Linked DNA regions of Homo sapiens: all the other regions are linked to region 1. The links are contacts of gene promoters, found by promoter capture Hi-C in blood cells and fetal thymus (Javierre and others, 2016). All regions are on one chromosome and are shown on one strand. Each heading gives the region's core, a stretch centred on a gene start or on the middle of the fragment in contact. The rest is flanking DNA. Distances are from core to core; before and after follow the strand shown.

Evidence for each region. The method cuts DNA at HindIII sites, captures the fragments that hold promoters and counts their contacts. A CHiCAGO score of 5 or more calls a contact.
Region 2: a contact is called between a fragment that was not itself captured here and the fragment with the promoter of TENT5C-DT in region 1, in 1 of 17 cell types (neutrophils). The highest score is 8.6, in neutrophils.
Region 3: a fragment that was not itself captured here is called in contact with the fragment with the promoter of TENT5C-DT in region 1 in 1 of 17 cell types (naive CD8 T cells); the score reaches 5.4 in naive CD8 T cells.

Annotation. Positions count from the first base shown.
Region 1 is chr1:117,603,514-117,608,460 of GRCh38, forward strand. TENT5C-DT (TENT5C divergent transcript) reads right to left here and starts at 2,257. Exons shown (of 3, transcript NR_121626.1): 1 at 2,133-2,257; 2 at 1,276-1,423. It overlaps TENT5C (terminal nucleotidyltransferase 5C), which reads left to right and starts at 2,535. Exons shown (of 2, transcript NM_017709.4): 1 at 2,535-2,640. RefSeq lists enhancers at 1,349-1,849, 1,850-2,350 and a silencer at 2,261-2,600. The HindIII fragment of the contact is 6,964 bases long and covers 1-3,919 here.
Region 2 is chr1:116,366,290-116,371,236 of GRCh38, forward strand. No RefSeq gene overlaps it. Among named protein-coding and RNA genes, the nearest start is that of ATP1A1, 4.5 kb to the right of the region's middle. The HindIII fragment of the contact is 3,007 bases long and covers 1,213-4,219 here.
Region 3 is chr1:116,558,524-116,563,470 of GRCh38, forward strand. All of the region lies in intron 1 of CD58 (CD58 molecule), which reads right to left. LOC105378925 (a long non-coding RNA gene) reads left to right here. Exons shown (of 3, transcript XR_947739.2): 3 at 1-2,664. It overlaps MIR548AC (microRNA 548ac), which reads right to left and starts at 1,588; the gene lies at 1,501-1,588. RefSeq lists enhancers at 55-104, 1,156-1,395, 3,995-4,144. The HindIII fragment of the contact is 813 bases long and covers 2,477-3,289 here.

The sequences.
Region 1 (4,947 bases), core at 1,007-3,506:
TTAACTTTATTGTGGTTGGAAGTTTATGGAAGGATGGTTGAGTTACTTGCCCAAGGCCTTATTACAGATAGTGAAAGTTAAAACAATGAAGTTCTTAGAAGAAAACAAAGAATATTATTTTTATGGGCTTAGGATTATTTTAAACAGGACATACAAAACACTAGTCATAAGAGATAAGATTAATATTTTGAATGTCTTTAAAATTAAGTGCTTCTGTTCATCAAAAGATAACATTAGAATAATTAAAAGTCAACACAGATTGGGAAAAGATATTTGTTATACATATATTGGACAAAGGGCTCATATTCAGAATATGTAAAGAACTCTTATAGGTCATTAGGACAGACAACTCCCTACAAATGAGCGAAAGACTTGAACAGACACTTTATTAAAAGGGTATTGAAATGAACAATAAGCATCTGAAAAATTGCTCAACATCCTTGATCATCAAAAAATGCAATTTTAAATCACAATGAAATACATATCCCCCCCCTTTTTAAATTAAAAAGACTGAAAATACCAATACTGGCAAAGATGTGAAACAACCGGAAATCTCATATCACTGGTTGGAACCTAAATTGTTATACGAATTTAAAAACTGGCAGTGTATTTAAAGTTTAATATGTGAACACTCTATGAACCAGGAATCCAATCCTAGGTATATATATATATCCAACATAAATGAATGCTATGTCCACCAAAAGACATGTGTAAGAATGTCTGCAGCAGCTTCATCAAAGGCAGAAACATGAAGCAACTCAAATGTCCACCAACAGTAGGATGAGTACACAAATCGTTGAATATTTATATAATGAAGTAATACACAGTAGTGAAAAAGAATGGACCATTGTTACACACAACAATATGGATGAATCTCATAGACGCACTGTTGGGCAAGAGAAGCCAGACATAAAATTGTACGTGTTATGTATTTCATCCATAGCAAGTTCAAATATTGGTAAAACTAATCTATGGTGATAGAGGTTAAAATAGTGGTAATCCTTGTCGGATACTGAATGGGAAGGGGCATGAATGAGCTGGAAAGGTTCCACATCTTGATATGGATGGCAGTTACATGGGTATGCATATGTAAAAAATTATCATTCTGGACACTTTTGATTTGTGCGCTTTACTGAATGTTATACCTCAAAAACAAAAAGTAAAACAAAAAATCAGATCATATGTCTTGATTTCGCGTCTAACAATAGGATCACTGGCTTTCCCTATAAACACTCATATTGATGTCCTATCGCATTAAAGTTCCTGGATACTCACTCTCCTCTCCCTCGCTGGGAAAGACATATTTGAGAACTCTTCATAGTCTGACAGACAGGAGAACCACACTTATTTCAGGCAGGGTTGGAAGAGTAGGGCGGAGGAGATGTAAATACTGCATCTGGGAAGTAATCTTTTCCCCCAGCACCTAGTAAACGATCAATACAAGTACAATAATGTCTATTGATAAATAACATTGTCCAACATTGGCTACTATCTGATACATACAGCATTTGCCACACACTTTCTAACAGGCACTAGGCAATGCACTAATTGTTTCCCACGTATTTTCTTAATACTTATATAATTCTACAGAGCTGTCCCATTGTTAGTCTTGTCCTACAGATAGGAGACGCAGGTTGTTGGAGGGTTGGTTCAGTTACTTGCCTAAGGCCTTACAGAAAGTTTAAGTGGTGCATGGAGATCTCAACTCAGATTAGTCTGAATTCAGAACCTGGGCTGTAAACCACTCGCTATGTTATGAATGGATGGTGTCCAAGCCCTGCCTGCATGTTATATAACACACTGGACCAAGTGCTGTGGCATTCCGAATGGGGCCGAAGCGGCTGCGGCTGCCGACATTGGCGATGGACTCCCCGAGGCCCTTCGTCCCACTAACTGCACACAGGTGGTCCCCGGGGCCAGAGAGCCGCCGGCGCTCTCTCCCCGAAGACCACGCCTTCGCCTCCAGCCAGTTTGCTTGGGGAATCAGAAAGGTGCCCAGGGCCCAGAAACCATTAAGTTTTTTCCGACTTCAAAAACACACACCGGAGGTAGGCGTGGGCGTTACCCGCCTCACTCCTGGGGGCAGGGAGAACCAACGCGAAAATCCCCAGAGAGGCGGAAGAAAAACCTGCCTGCGAGAGAATAGGATGGAGATGGGAAAAGCCTGGGGAAGAGAGAGTTATGCGGCAGGAATAGCAGAAAAGCGTACTAAGCAAAAAGAAAGGTGTCCCACTAACTCCGAAGTTAAGTGGGTGTCGACGCAGCCCCCTCTATTGCGCTTGCGCAGTGCTGCCTCCCTGAGCACCCCGCCCCTTCCCGCCGCTGAGGATTTACTCGTCTCTTGGCAACCATTCACCCGAAGAGCCAATCAGAGGGCAGCCCTCGCCCCGCCCCTGCCGTCAGGGCCGGGCGGAAGGGTCCCGAGGGGACTGGCTCCGCCACGCCCCGCCCCTGGCTCCCCCGGGAGGGCGGCTCAGGGGCGGGGACGGGGGCGTGGTCCCGCCGTATAAGAACGGAGGGGGCGGCGGCGGGACGGCTCACTCGGTGCCGCTGCCTAGGGGCTGTAGAGGTCGCGCCGCTCCTGCTGGGGCCTGCCCACGCCAAGGACCTGCCTCTGTCGCCTCCTCTTCTATTGCCCAGGTGAGTCCGCGACCCCCCTCCTCTAAAGGTGCGGCGATGCGGCAGCAGCCCCAGGGAGCCGCGAGCTCACTTAGTGGGGGTCCGCCCCCACTAAGTGGTGCTCAGGTCTTTGCCCAGCCTGGTAGGGGGCAGGCGGACCCGAGGGGAGCTGCGGACAGGTGCCGAGACCCGGTGCTCCTTTCCCCTCCTGCTCCCTCGAGGACCCCCGCCCCTGACACACCCGTCCCAAAGGGCCAGAAGAGACGCTCCGAAAGGGAGCTACAACTTTCCAGAGACCTGGGGCTTGGCAAACTCCAGCGAGTTCCTGCTCCGCGCGTCCTGCAGGCTGCGCGCTGGCCAGGCGCGGGCAGGGCGTCTGAAGAGTGTGTGATCGGCGCCTCCGCTCCTACCTGGATCAGACGGCGCCCCCCGCCACCCATGCCTCCCTTCCTGGCTTGCAGTCCCTCGGGCTCGCCCCGGCGCTCCCGCGGGCGCGCACACCTTCGCCGGCCCGCCGAGTGTGAATTCGAATTCGGCGGTTTCACTAGGCGCAGCTGGAGACGCAGCGGTCCGGGGCTTGGATCTGGTTGGGGAGGGGAGGGGCGCTTCCTAGGCTCATTGCCAAGTCCTGAGTTTTAAGGAGAAGGGCGGAGATCCTTAAATTTAATGCGCTCACATCAGACTGTGGACACCATGAGCAGCAAAGGGATCCAAGCCAGTGACTTGTGCGCTGCGCGTCTCTCAGAAACTTCTTGGGAATGCGGTGTCTGTGAAACCTGCTTCCTCTCCTTTTGAAAATGAAACTTGCTTTACTGCGTAGGTGAAAAGCCACGGCAAGTGGGTCGACTCGGACGGATACCGGTGCGGCTGCCCCGGGAGGTGTCGCAGTTCGGGGACTCCCTTCGCACTGGTCGCGAGGCAGGAGGGAGCAGGGTGGGAGGCGAGTCAGAGGAGGGTGACTTACCTGAAGAATACAGGTTGGTAGCCTGCACACCTGAACTCAACGCTGGCGGGCGAGAAAACCAAGCAGCGCTACCTCCAAGTAAGGGCGCTCCCCTGGAGAAATGAATGCCTGGCGAGCTTCTGGAGAACCCACTATTAGGGCTGGACCCTGCGGGAGGGATAGTGTCAGCTCCCTTCCCCTTCGCCCTTTTTTGTCCATAGGTAGGCTTTTGTAGGGCTCTAACCAGTTCCCTGGCTTAATTAAGTAGGGGCCTGCTTCCTTTTTAACATTTTTGCTTTCTTACGGAGATATAAAGTGCATACAAATGAAGTGCTTAAAATGCACTTATAGTAAGAAAGCTTTTATAAATACTATGTGCATAATTATTTGTATTGTGACAACTTGGTCTTCAGGTTACTTTGTAGGTGGGTTAGGAGACTGAACCAGCCCAGGAAATAAAGTTAGGGTGATTAGATCCTCCCAAAGTACACTTCTGGCTGGCTCAGCTGCCCTCTGCGTGCAGGAAAGAGGGTGACCGTTGTTGGCGACAGCAACCTTTCAACGTGAGTAAATTGGCAAGGAAATGAGCCCAGGAAGTAAGTTGGGCAGCCGCAAGAGTGGTAGGAGAGCTTACCCAGAATTTTACTGTCTTAAATCCCCAAGGGTATTATTGAGGGTGTGAGACCAGCCACGTTAGGCCCTGCAGTGGAAAAGGGGGAGGGGGATGGGGAGTAAAGAATGCTGACTTTTCTCTGGGCTTTTAGGGAAACCTCTGAGCTGGGCTGCAGGGGTTCTGTCCTTTGACATTCTTGTTTGTGAAGATGGAAAATGATCTCTGGAGTCAAGCTTAGTTTATTTCAGATAATGAACTTTTTCTCTTAAGGTATACCCATAGCTTTAGAGTACATATATTCTCAATAAAGAGTTTTTAGGAAGATTTTGGTATATTGTATATAATTGTTCAGGTAGCTATGCGGGGGTAGGGGGCTCCCATAACAAAGTTTAAAAAAAAAAAAAAACTCTGCCAGGAGGCCTCTAAATTGTTACCAAAACAAAGATCCCTAATTTCATAAGCAGCTTCAGTGAGCACATAGAATTAACAGCCATATTTCTTACGCTGTTTTTTCCACAATACCTACCTTGTATCCAGGGATTAAATTCATGTAATTCTGAAGGAAAGGATTTGGCTCTTAGCCTGCTTGTCAGAGTGAGCATGACTTAGTTGTGCACCTGTGGCTATCTCTACCTGGTTTCTTCTCTTGTACCGTGAGCACAAGTAGCCACTGAAATCTCCCGAGTTCCAGAGGCCCGTCCCCCCTCAGCTGTATCTCCCCATAGTGCACACATTCAGCCCACATTCCCCCGTGTTCAAGGCCAGGGCAGAT
Region 2 (4,947 bases), core at 1,466-3,965, 1.2 Mb before region 1:
GGAATCAAGACGAGATAATTGCTTACCCTCTTTGAACAGTTACTACATGGCAGGCAATGTTCTAGTGCTTTAAGTATATCATGTCAATTGTTTCTCATAGCAGCCCACTGGTAGAGTTACTAAGTTAGATAGTTTTTCTAGATAAAAAGCTTCATGCTTACATACATTGTTTGAAGAAGGTATTTGGTTAGAATCCTGTCATGTGATCAGCTATTTTGGGTCCACCACCTCCATCACCACCATCCCATTACCTCCTACCATCACTTTCATTACCACCACCACCATCTCTGTCTCCACTGTTAACTCTTAACACTGTGTCCATGACCAGACGTCAAATGTTAACAGGGACTTGTCAAAAAAGCAAAAAGCTGAGATGTGTTAGGCAGGGACATCTTTAACTTGAGCTATTTGGACAACTTTTTTTTTTTTTTTTTTTTTTTTTTTTTTGAGGTAGGTCCCACTATATCACTCAGGCTGGTCTTGAATCATTGGTCTCAAGTGACCCTCTCACCTCAGTATTTGGACAATTGAAGCTAAATTTTTCATTAACTTGGTTTCTTCCTTCTTTTCTTTATCTTCTATAATTTCGGTCTTCAAATGTGAGATTGCTTACCAGGCAGCTTAACATTTCTTTAGTCAGTGGAGTTGCATCAAGCACTGGACTCTGAGAGAACTGGAAACCAACAAAGTCCTTGGCCTATTTGGAATTCACCTTAGCAAAAAACACTAGGAAATCAGATAAAATGCCTGAGCCATCCCCGCAAATTGAACTATCTTCTGAGGGCTAGGGAGTTGTATGTTGACCAATTGTTAAAATTATGTCCTAATTCCAGTTTTTCATCATATCCAGCAATTCAAAAGCTTCTGTTCAAGAGAAGTAGTAGATAATAGGGATGGTAATGGGAGTTAAGGCATGCTGCCTGTGTGTGCACAAGAAAAGGAAGAAAATAAAATTAGCATACTATGACAAAAATATACAAGGAGATATAGGTATCTTGAGATTCTGAATTCAATAATGTGATCAGAGAAGCTTTCATAAATGTGCTGGCTATGAAGGCATATCTACTGGAGAAATCTTTCCAAAGCACAAATCTGATCATGCCCTGCCCCTGCTTAGAACCCCACAGTGTCTCCCTATGGCCCATAGGATAAAGTCCAAGCCCTTTGATGGCATCCAAGTCCTCCACAATCTGGACTCTGCTCACCTCTCCAAGCTTACTTCCTGCCGCCATTCCTCTCACAACCTAGGCTCTCGCCATTTTAATCTTCTGGCCAGTCCTCCAACACTCAGTTTGTTTCTGTCCTGAAGACCTTACCCATGTGCTACTTTTGCTTGCATCCTCCTGGTCCTGCCTAACATGCTGCCATTCCGTGAACTCCTAACCATCTTTCACAATCCCAGCCAGGGAAGCCTTTCCCACTCTGCAGACAGAGCTGGCCACTTCCTCCTTCATGCCCCCATGAAGGCCTGCATATATGCAGCACCTCTCACTGTGTTACTAATATCTCTTTGCATGTCTTTTTTTTATGCCAGATGGTGAGCTATTTGAGGGTAGAGAATGTGTCTTAGTTATCTTTATACAACAGCAACAAGCACTGTGCTAGGCTCAGAGTAGATATTCAATAATGTTTATTCTGATTTTTTGCATGAACTAGTTCTTACTTCTGTTAAATACTATACACTACCAGAGTTAAGGATTGGAGTATGCTCTTTATAAGAGGGGGAAAAAAGGGGGAACCCTTCTTAGGGGCTTATTTGTAAGAGTCCACATGTAGAGGTCACCATCGCCAAAATGGAAGCCTCCAGAGTAAAACATAAGCTGTTAAAAATGAATTGAGCTGGTTACTATTTTTGCACCTGACCTACTTTTTGGTTACTTCTGCTGTTGCAAAAACTTCCATTCTTATAAATGAACCAAACCACTTTTTGATGGTTTTGTATTCTCTCCTCTTAAGGTAGCTTTTTACTGAAACAAAAATCTGCACAGTCTCTGAAACCCAGCTTTAATGCAAAGGCATCTATGGAAGAGTATTATTCCCAGTAGGACCAACTTCCAAAGAACTCTCTCAATTGTTTTTCCATGGAAGAGTTTAAGGCCAAGAATAGCAAATCTATCCACCACGATGATGGCACTTATTTCCTTAGTGCTTGTGGTTGTGCCCCCTGGAGAGCAGGAAGGGTTAGATGCCAGTTACCTCCCGCCACCTCTTCCCAGCTTTGGGCTTGCCCTTTCTGAGCTGTAAGGCTGCCTGAAGCTGTGTCTCTGCTGGTTGGATGAAGATGGGACTCTGGCAGTGGAATATTTTTCAGTCCAGATCCCTTCTTTGTTACCATTTGATTTTCTTTTTTTTTTTTTTTTTTTTTTGTTGCAATGCCTCGGTAGTTGTTGATTTGCAGAAAACAATTGGTGAGTTTTTAAATGTAGGATATTGTAACATCACATAGTGTTGTGAACTAGGGTAAGGGGAGTAGAACTGTATTGGCAGAGAGTGCTAAAGGAGAAGGCAGAATCCTGGCTCAGGATCTGGTATAAAACACACAGGAAACAACTAAAGAATCCTTTATTACTGCTTTATTTACGAAGACCGCTATTAATAACAGCAAATTATTTAAAGGGCAGCTGGGTTAAAAGGATGCTGAGTAAAACACCAAGGACTTGATTCTGTTGTGGTTGGTGATAACCTACAATAGTTACCAAGTAAATGCAGACTCTTTCAAATTTCCCAGTTTCCCAGAGGCACAACCTGAAGTCTTCAACCACCACTAACAGGAGAAAATATGTTTAAAAGAATACTAAGGAGCTTTCAAAAGGATTAAGAAATGGCTCGGGGGCCGGGCGCGGTGGCTCACACCTGCAATCCCAGCACTTTGGGAGGCAGAGGCGGGCAGGTCACGAGGTCAGCAGATCGAGACCATCCTGGCTAACACGGTGAAACCCAGTCTCTACTAAAAATACAAAAAATTAGCCAGGTGTGGTGGCAGGCGCCTGTAGTCCCAGCTACTAAGGAAGCTGAGGCAGGAGAATCGCTTGAACCAGGAGGCGGAGTTTGCAGTGAGCCGAGATCGCGCCACTGCACTCCATTCTGGGGCGATAGAGCGAGACTCCGTCTCAAAACAAAGAAAAAAAAAAAGAAAGAAAGAAATGGCTCGGCTGCGCTCCATTCTGGGGCGATAGAGCGAGACTCCGTCTCAAAACAAAGAAAAAAAAAAAGAAAGAAAGAAATGGCTCGGCGTGGTGGCTCACACCTGTAATCCCAGCACTTTGGGAGGCTGAGGCAGGCAGATCACTTGATGTCAGGAATTCGAGAACAGCCTGGCCAACATAGTGAAACCCTGTCTCTACTAAAAATACAAAAATTAGCCTGGCACGGTGGTGCGTGCCTGTAATCCAAGCTACTCAGGAGGCTGAGGTACAAGAATTCCTTGAACCCGAGAGGCAGAGGTTGTAGCGAGCCGAGATTACACCACCGCACTTCAGCCTGGACAAAAGAGTAAGACTCCATCTCAAAAAAAACAAACCAAAAAAAAGGTAAGAATGGAGAGTCTGGGAGGAAAAGTTATAGGAGTCAGAATTATTTGCTGACAGATTTTGATAGTCAGCAATGCACCCAGAACTGTGCTTTTAAAGACAGGTGATATGTCTGCTGCTGAACAGAAGAAAAGGAAATAGATTTGCAATGGAGGCACAGAGATTTGCAATGGAGGCACAGATAATGGCTAGGGGGAACTTTGAATGATGAAGACAGTTGACTTTAAAGCAGCAAGAGTGGCTTTCTGGGTAACGTGGAAAATTCTGGATAATGTGGGAAATAGGTAAAGGATAAAGATGCATGCTTATGACTGTTTCCATGCTAACTCGGGAGCACACAAAGCCAAAGAAAATTCTGTCCTTCCAGATCTCTAGCTCATAGATCCCCAAAATTTTTGTGTCCTATGGAAAATGCTAAGTTGGTGTGGGCTCCAACTCATATTTTAAAGCCTTTAATTGCAATGATGTGTTTATTCAATTCAGCAAATACTCAAAGTGCTAGCGTTCTTGGCTCAAAAAACTGACTTGCATCATATTTTTCATACATCTGCTGACTCTATTCACAATGACTGGAGCAACCATCCACAGTTGTGATCAAATTCTCCTCGAAGCTATCCATACTTGGCAGCCTTAAGGTCTATAAATGCTGAGTCTCCAGGCCAATCAGTTTAACTGTGCCCCAAGTTAGAAGCTTGAAAAGAGTTGATAGGATAAGCAGCAGACAGAATAGAGAGCCTTTGCTTTCTTCACCCTCTCTTCTAGAATCCAAATTTGTCCCCTGCACTGGAGTTAGAAAAGCTACCTGAAAGTCTTGCCACTATTCTTGGAATATTCAATACCAATTACTCCCTGGGCCTCAGTTTCTTCATCATAAAATGAGGGAGCTTGATGTTTCATCTATAAGGTTTCATTTCATTCAGAAGCCACTCTTCCAAGGGAAGAAAAGAAGGCTTTTTCTTAAAAAAAAAAAAAAAAAAGGACTTTTCCTCCTTTGCTTACCCATTTTCCAAGGTGTCTCTCTCATATCTGAGATTTCCTTCTGCGCCTCAGACTTGGTCATGCCTTACCTTTTTCTTTACCTCAAAGACTTGTGAGAATTCAAGGGCACTGTGCATCTGAAATTACTGTGTGGCATCAAAAGCAAAATACAGATTTAAGATAATGTTTCTTATATTTTTTGCCCTTTCTTCACACCGGAACACAGCTAGAACTCTGGGATCCTCCTGAAAGGACCTTCAGCAATTTTCAGTTGCCAAATAAATAGCTCTAGATACAAAGGGAAGTGCCTTGATCTATCAGGGTTATTTTGTTGAGTGAATGAATGAGAATTTTACTTATGAGGGGAGAAAAAGGAGATCAGCTGGCAGGAGAAATCTACGTTGTTCCGACCCGTGCTTTATATATTTAGTTGTTGCCG
Region 3 (4,947 bases), core at 1,633-4,132, 1.0 Mb before region 1:
CCTAAAATGTCTAGGCTAGTAATTGTATCAAATAACCTGTCCTATTAAGGCCATAAATATTCTCATATTAGTCAGTCCCAATTTTGGGGGTAGAAAATGTGCTTACCAGGCATGGAGATAATAAAGAGGAGTAGCACTGTTTGTTTTAACTCAATCAAGTTTCATACAGTTGTGACTCTTGCCTAGCTCTTAGCAAGTCCAATCCAAGGAGCCCTAGGCCAGCTCAGCCTCAGTAATAATATTTAACAGTAGCAGCAGCACGAAGATTCACTGCAGGCTTACTATGTGACAAGCACTTGTTCCAAGAGCTGTTTGTGTATTAACTCATTTAATCCTCAACTCAACTCTGAGGTAGTTCTTATTATTCATTTATTTGTTCATCAAATGTTCATGGAGTCCTGCCTATGTGCCAGACACTGAAATAAGCAGGCAGGATATAGCAATGAACAAAACAGACAAAATCCCAGCCCTCTTGGAGTCTATTTTTCAGTGGAGGGAAGAACATAATAAATGAAAAAGTAAATATCTTTTATTTGGATGATGTTGGATGATGTTAAGTGCTATAGAGAAAAATAAAGCAGAGTGTGGGGGCTGAGGAGTACTGGTAAGGAAAGGAGTTGGATGGCATGGGGGGCAGTCATAAGTTGGCATCTGAGCAGAGTCCAGAAAAGCAGGGGAGCGAGCCTAAGAACATCTGGGGTGAGAGTGAGAAAGGAGTTATTTCTTGAGAACACGCCTATCAAAGTAAGGTGGTTTGCTCCGCTGGACACTTGGTTGATAGAGAAGGTCAAAGATTCCGAAGCACCAGGCTACAGATGAAGAAATGGACTGAGAGGGTCAGCTGACTGCATTCACTCAGCTAGCAAGGGGCAGAGCTGGTGTCCAGACACAGGCAGTCGGCCCCAGAGCCTGCACTGTTGGCCAGAACATCAGATGCCTTGGTTGGGGCCATTCCTCTTTTTTCCTGATCGATTCCACCCTTAGCCGGTCCCAGTTAGTGACTTCTCTTATTTCCTTAAGACAGAGATTTACTGATTTCAGCCACACCACCACCAGTTTCCCTGCCCTCATCTACTTCATACTGAAACTGCAGCCACCTGTCTCCCAACGGTTACAAACCCTCGGTCCCCAAGGCCAGAGCAAGGTTCCCGGACCTTGCTCTCAGCTGTCAATCTGCCTCCTCGATAAGTTCATCAAGAATTAAGATGTTGGTTCTCTAAATCAACTTCTTTCTGTACTTTCCTTCTAATATGATGCTAAAATAGTTTCCTTTTTAATTCTTGTTCTTGCACTTAACCTATTTCTTCTTTCTCAAGATGTTTCCCTTTAGACCTATGCAATCCATCAAAGTAGCTACCAGCTACAAGTGGCTAGTGAGAACCTGAAATATGGTTAGTTCAAATGGAGATGTGTTCTGAGTATCAAATACACACCAGAATCTGAAGACCTGGTATTAAAAAGTGGAACATAAAATCTCTTGTTAATATTTTTTTGTAGTAACTACTAGGTTAGTGCAAAAGTAATTGCCGGTTTTTGCCATTAAAAAAAAATAGCAAAAACCACAATAACTTTTGCACCAACCTAATACATGTCGAAATGAAAATATTATGGATATATTAGGTTAACTAAAATATATTATTAAAATTAATTTCACATGTTCCATATTATACTTCTATTTGAGAGCACTTCTTTAGCCTGTTGTTTCAAGACACTCACATCCCACCTTTCTCAAAGGCCACATTTGTCTTTGACTGTTCTCACCTTAGATAGGATACAGCTGAGATCCACAGTATGCTTTAGGGAATAAGGTTCTTACTAGATCGGTTAAGGCTGTGAGTGTTTTTAAATCTATTCTCCAAAGTCTGATTCAAGGTATTTCAATACAGTACTGATCATTTCACTAAAATTCCTTGAGAATCCTTGTTATTTTCTAGATACTCAGTTCATCGTTGGGAAACTCTATTGCAAGTAGTTTACAATGGCACAGCCTCATTAGTTTCTTATTAATCTGATTTTTTATTTTTTTCTGAATGTGTATGTTAAACTTCAATTTTCTTCTAATTTTTAACTGGCATAGGAAGAAAATGTTCAAGAAACTACAGACTGGTCAGCCCAGTGGAAATTCAGGCACTAATCTCAACAGACATTTTGGGGAACATTGTAAAGTAAGCAAAGTTCACTAGAACCTATAAAGTAACCAAAAAGCATTTTCCTTGGAGGCTGATGGGCAGGCACTGAAAGTTATCTCCAAAGAGGAACTGCTAAAATGTTTTCCCCTCCTTTTCTAGGGACAGTCTCTGTATCTTATAGTCACACTTTATATTCAAACCTGAACTTATCTGAGAAAAGAGAAACGGCTGCATCCTGGTTTCACTTACAACCCTGAGATGGAAGTTGAGATTTGTCATTGCAGAATTTAAGGGTCTGTGTCCTTAAGTAAAACCTTCTGGTCACCCCTCAAGTAAAGCTTCAAAAAAGCTTAGGCACTTGTGCAGAAACAGCATGAGAAGAAACCAAAAGGCAGAAAACTTACACATATAAGGGCTGATTTATGCAAAGTTTCTACTTTTAAACAGAGAAACCAATACCTACCCTCAAAGCCTGTATTTACTAAAGAAATGTTAGAGTGACAAGGAGGTCAATAAAATAAATTATTCAAATCTGGTTCTTAAAAAGAGGTTCTAAGACTATTTTAAAACTTCTGAAAGATGCCCATCAAAATTAAAACAAAAAAACATAGCAACGAATACAATGAGTGAAACTTGATTAGATCCGGGTTTTTTAACAAAAGACACTCTTGTGACAAGTGGGGAAATCTGAATACGGGTAAAAGTTAGGTGATGTTACAGGATTAGTGTTAATATTTATAGATGTTATGATGTTATTGAGATTATGCAAAAGTGTCTAGGAGTGAAATGTGGGTACCTAGAGAATGTAAATATAATAATGTTAATAATAAATATGTCAATAAATTGCCATTGTAAATTCTATGTCCCAAAGAAGCACCCCTCACCATTACAAATTATGATATTAAATACAATTTTGCATGACTGGTAATTGTGCTGACCTATATTTCCCATGTTTTAGCAGAATTTCATTGGACAATGTATACATGTTGGATATAAGAAATCAGTAGTACTCATCTTCAAAAAGTTGCTTAGTGGATCTCAGGCTAGGGATACAACAGAGCATATAAAGGAATAGGTTCTGATTCAGAGAGAATCAAAGTTCAAGTTCACTCTGCCACTTATTTGCTGTGTGAACTTGGACACATTACTGAACCTACCTAAGCTTTGTTCTCCTATTAAATGTTCCCTATGTAATAAAATCAGTGTGACAATTAAATAAAAACATCTCAAATCTGAAGCATAGCTCCTGGCACAGAGCAGGTACTTACCTCCTAGTGGCTATTATTACTTACACTCTGTTATAACACTGGGCCTAGTTTTCCTATAGGAACACACAACACTATTTTAACTTGGATTATCTTTGCTAAATAAAAAAACACAGACTGTCTAAGTCTCAACTCCAGCAAAGCACATGAACAAGTCTCACATAATAATGTGAGATAATTTCAAATGGAGAAATGCTGGACAAATACATTGTCATCTAATGTTCAGATTCAACAATCTTTACTATTAAAAAAAAACAGATCAATATAAGGAAAATTTTAAAAAATAATACATGACTTCTGCATACAAGGAACTTAAAATCTAGTTATGCAGATAGTTGGCAATAAAGGATCTGTAAAATGTCAACAACAGCAGAATAAGACAGACTCTGTTAATAATAAAATAGTTCCTACCTTTTTATTTTTTATTTTTTTGCTCTGTTACCCAGGCTGGAATGCAGTTGTGTCATCATGGCTCACTGCAGCCTCAAATTCCCAGACTCAAGCAATTGCCAGGCTCATCTCAGCCTCCTGAGTAGCTGGGACTACAGGCGTGCACCACCACACCTGGCTAACTTTTTGTAGAGATGGGGTGTATTAGTCCATTCTCGCACTGCTAATAATGACATACATGAGACTGGGTAATTTATCAAGGAAAGAGGCTCAATGGACTCACAGTTCCACATGGCCAGGGAAACCTCACAATCATGGCAGAAGGCAAAGGAGAAGCAAAGTCATGTCTTAATGGTGGCAGGCAAGAGAGAGCGTGTGCAGGGGAACTCCCCTTTATGAAACCATCAGATCTTGTGAGACTTATTCACTATCACAAGAACAGTATAGAGGAAACTGCCCTCATGATTCAATTATCTCCACCTGGCCCTGCCCTTGACACACGGGGATTATTACAATTCAAGGTGAGATTTGGGTGGGGACACAGCCAAACCATATCATTCCACCCCGGCCCCTCCCAAATCTCATGTCCTCACATTTCAAAACACAATAATGCCCTTCCAACAGTCCCTCAAAATCTTAACTTATTCCAGCATTAATCCAAAAGTCTAAATCCAAAGTCTCATCGGAGATAAGGCAAGTACCTTCCACCTATGAGCCTGTAAAATCAAAGGCAAGTTAGTTACTTCCTAGATACAATGGGGGTACAGGTGCTGAGTAAATATATCCATTCCAAATGGGAGAAATTGTCCAAAACAAAAGGGCTACAGGCCCCATGCAAGTCCTAAATCCAATAGGGCAGTCTTAAACCTTAAAGTTCCAAAATGATCTCCTTTGACTCCATGCCTCACATCCAGGTGACGCAAGAGATGGGCTCCCACAACCTTGGGCAGCTCTTCCCCTGTGGCTTTGCAGGGTACAGCCATCCTCCTGGCTGCTTTCATGAGCTGGCATTAAGTGTCTGTGGCTTTTCCAGGTACACGGTGCAAGCTCTCGGTGGATCTACCATTCCGGGGTCTGGTGGATGATGGCCCTCTTCTCACAGCTCCACTAGGCGGTGCCCCAGTGGGGACTCTGTGTGGGGGCTCCAACTCCACATTTCCCTT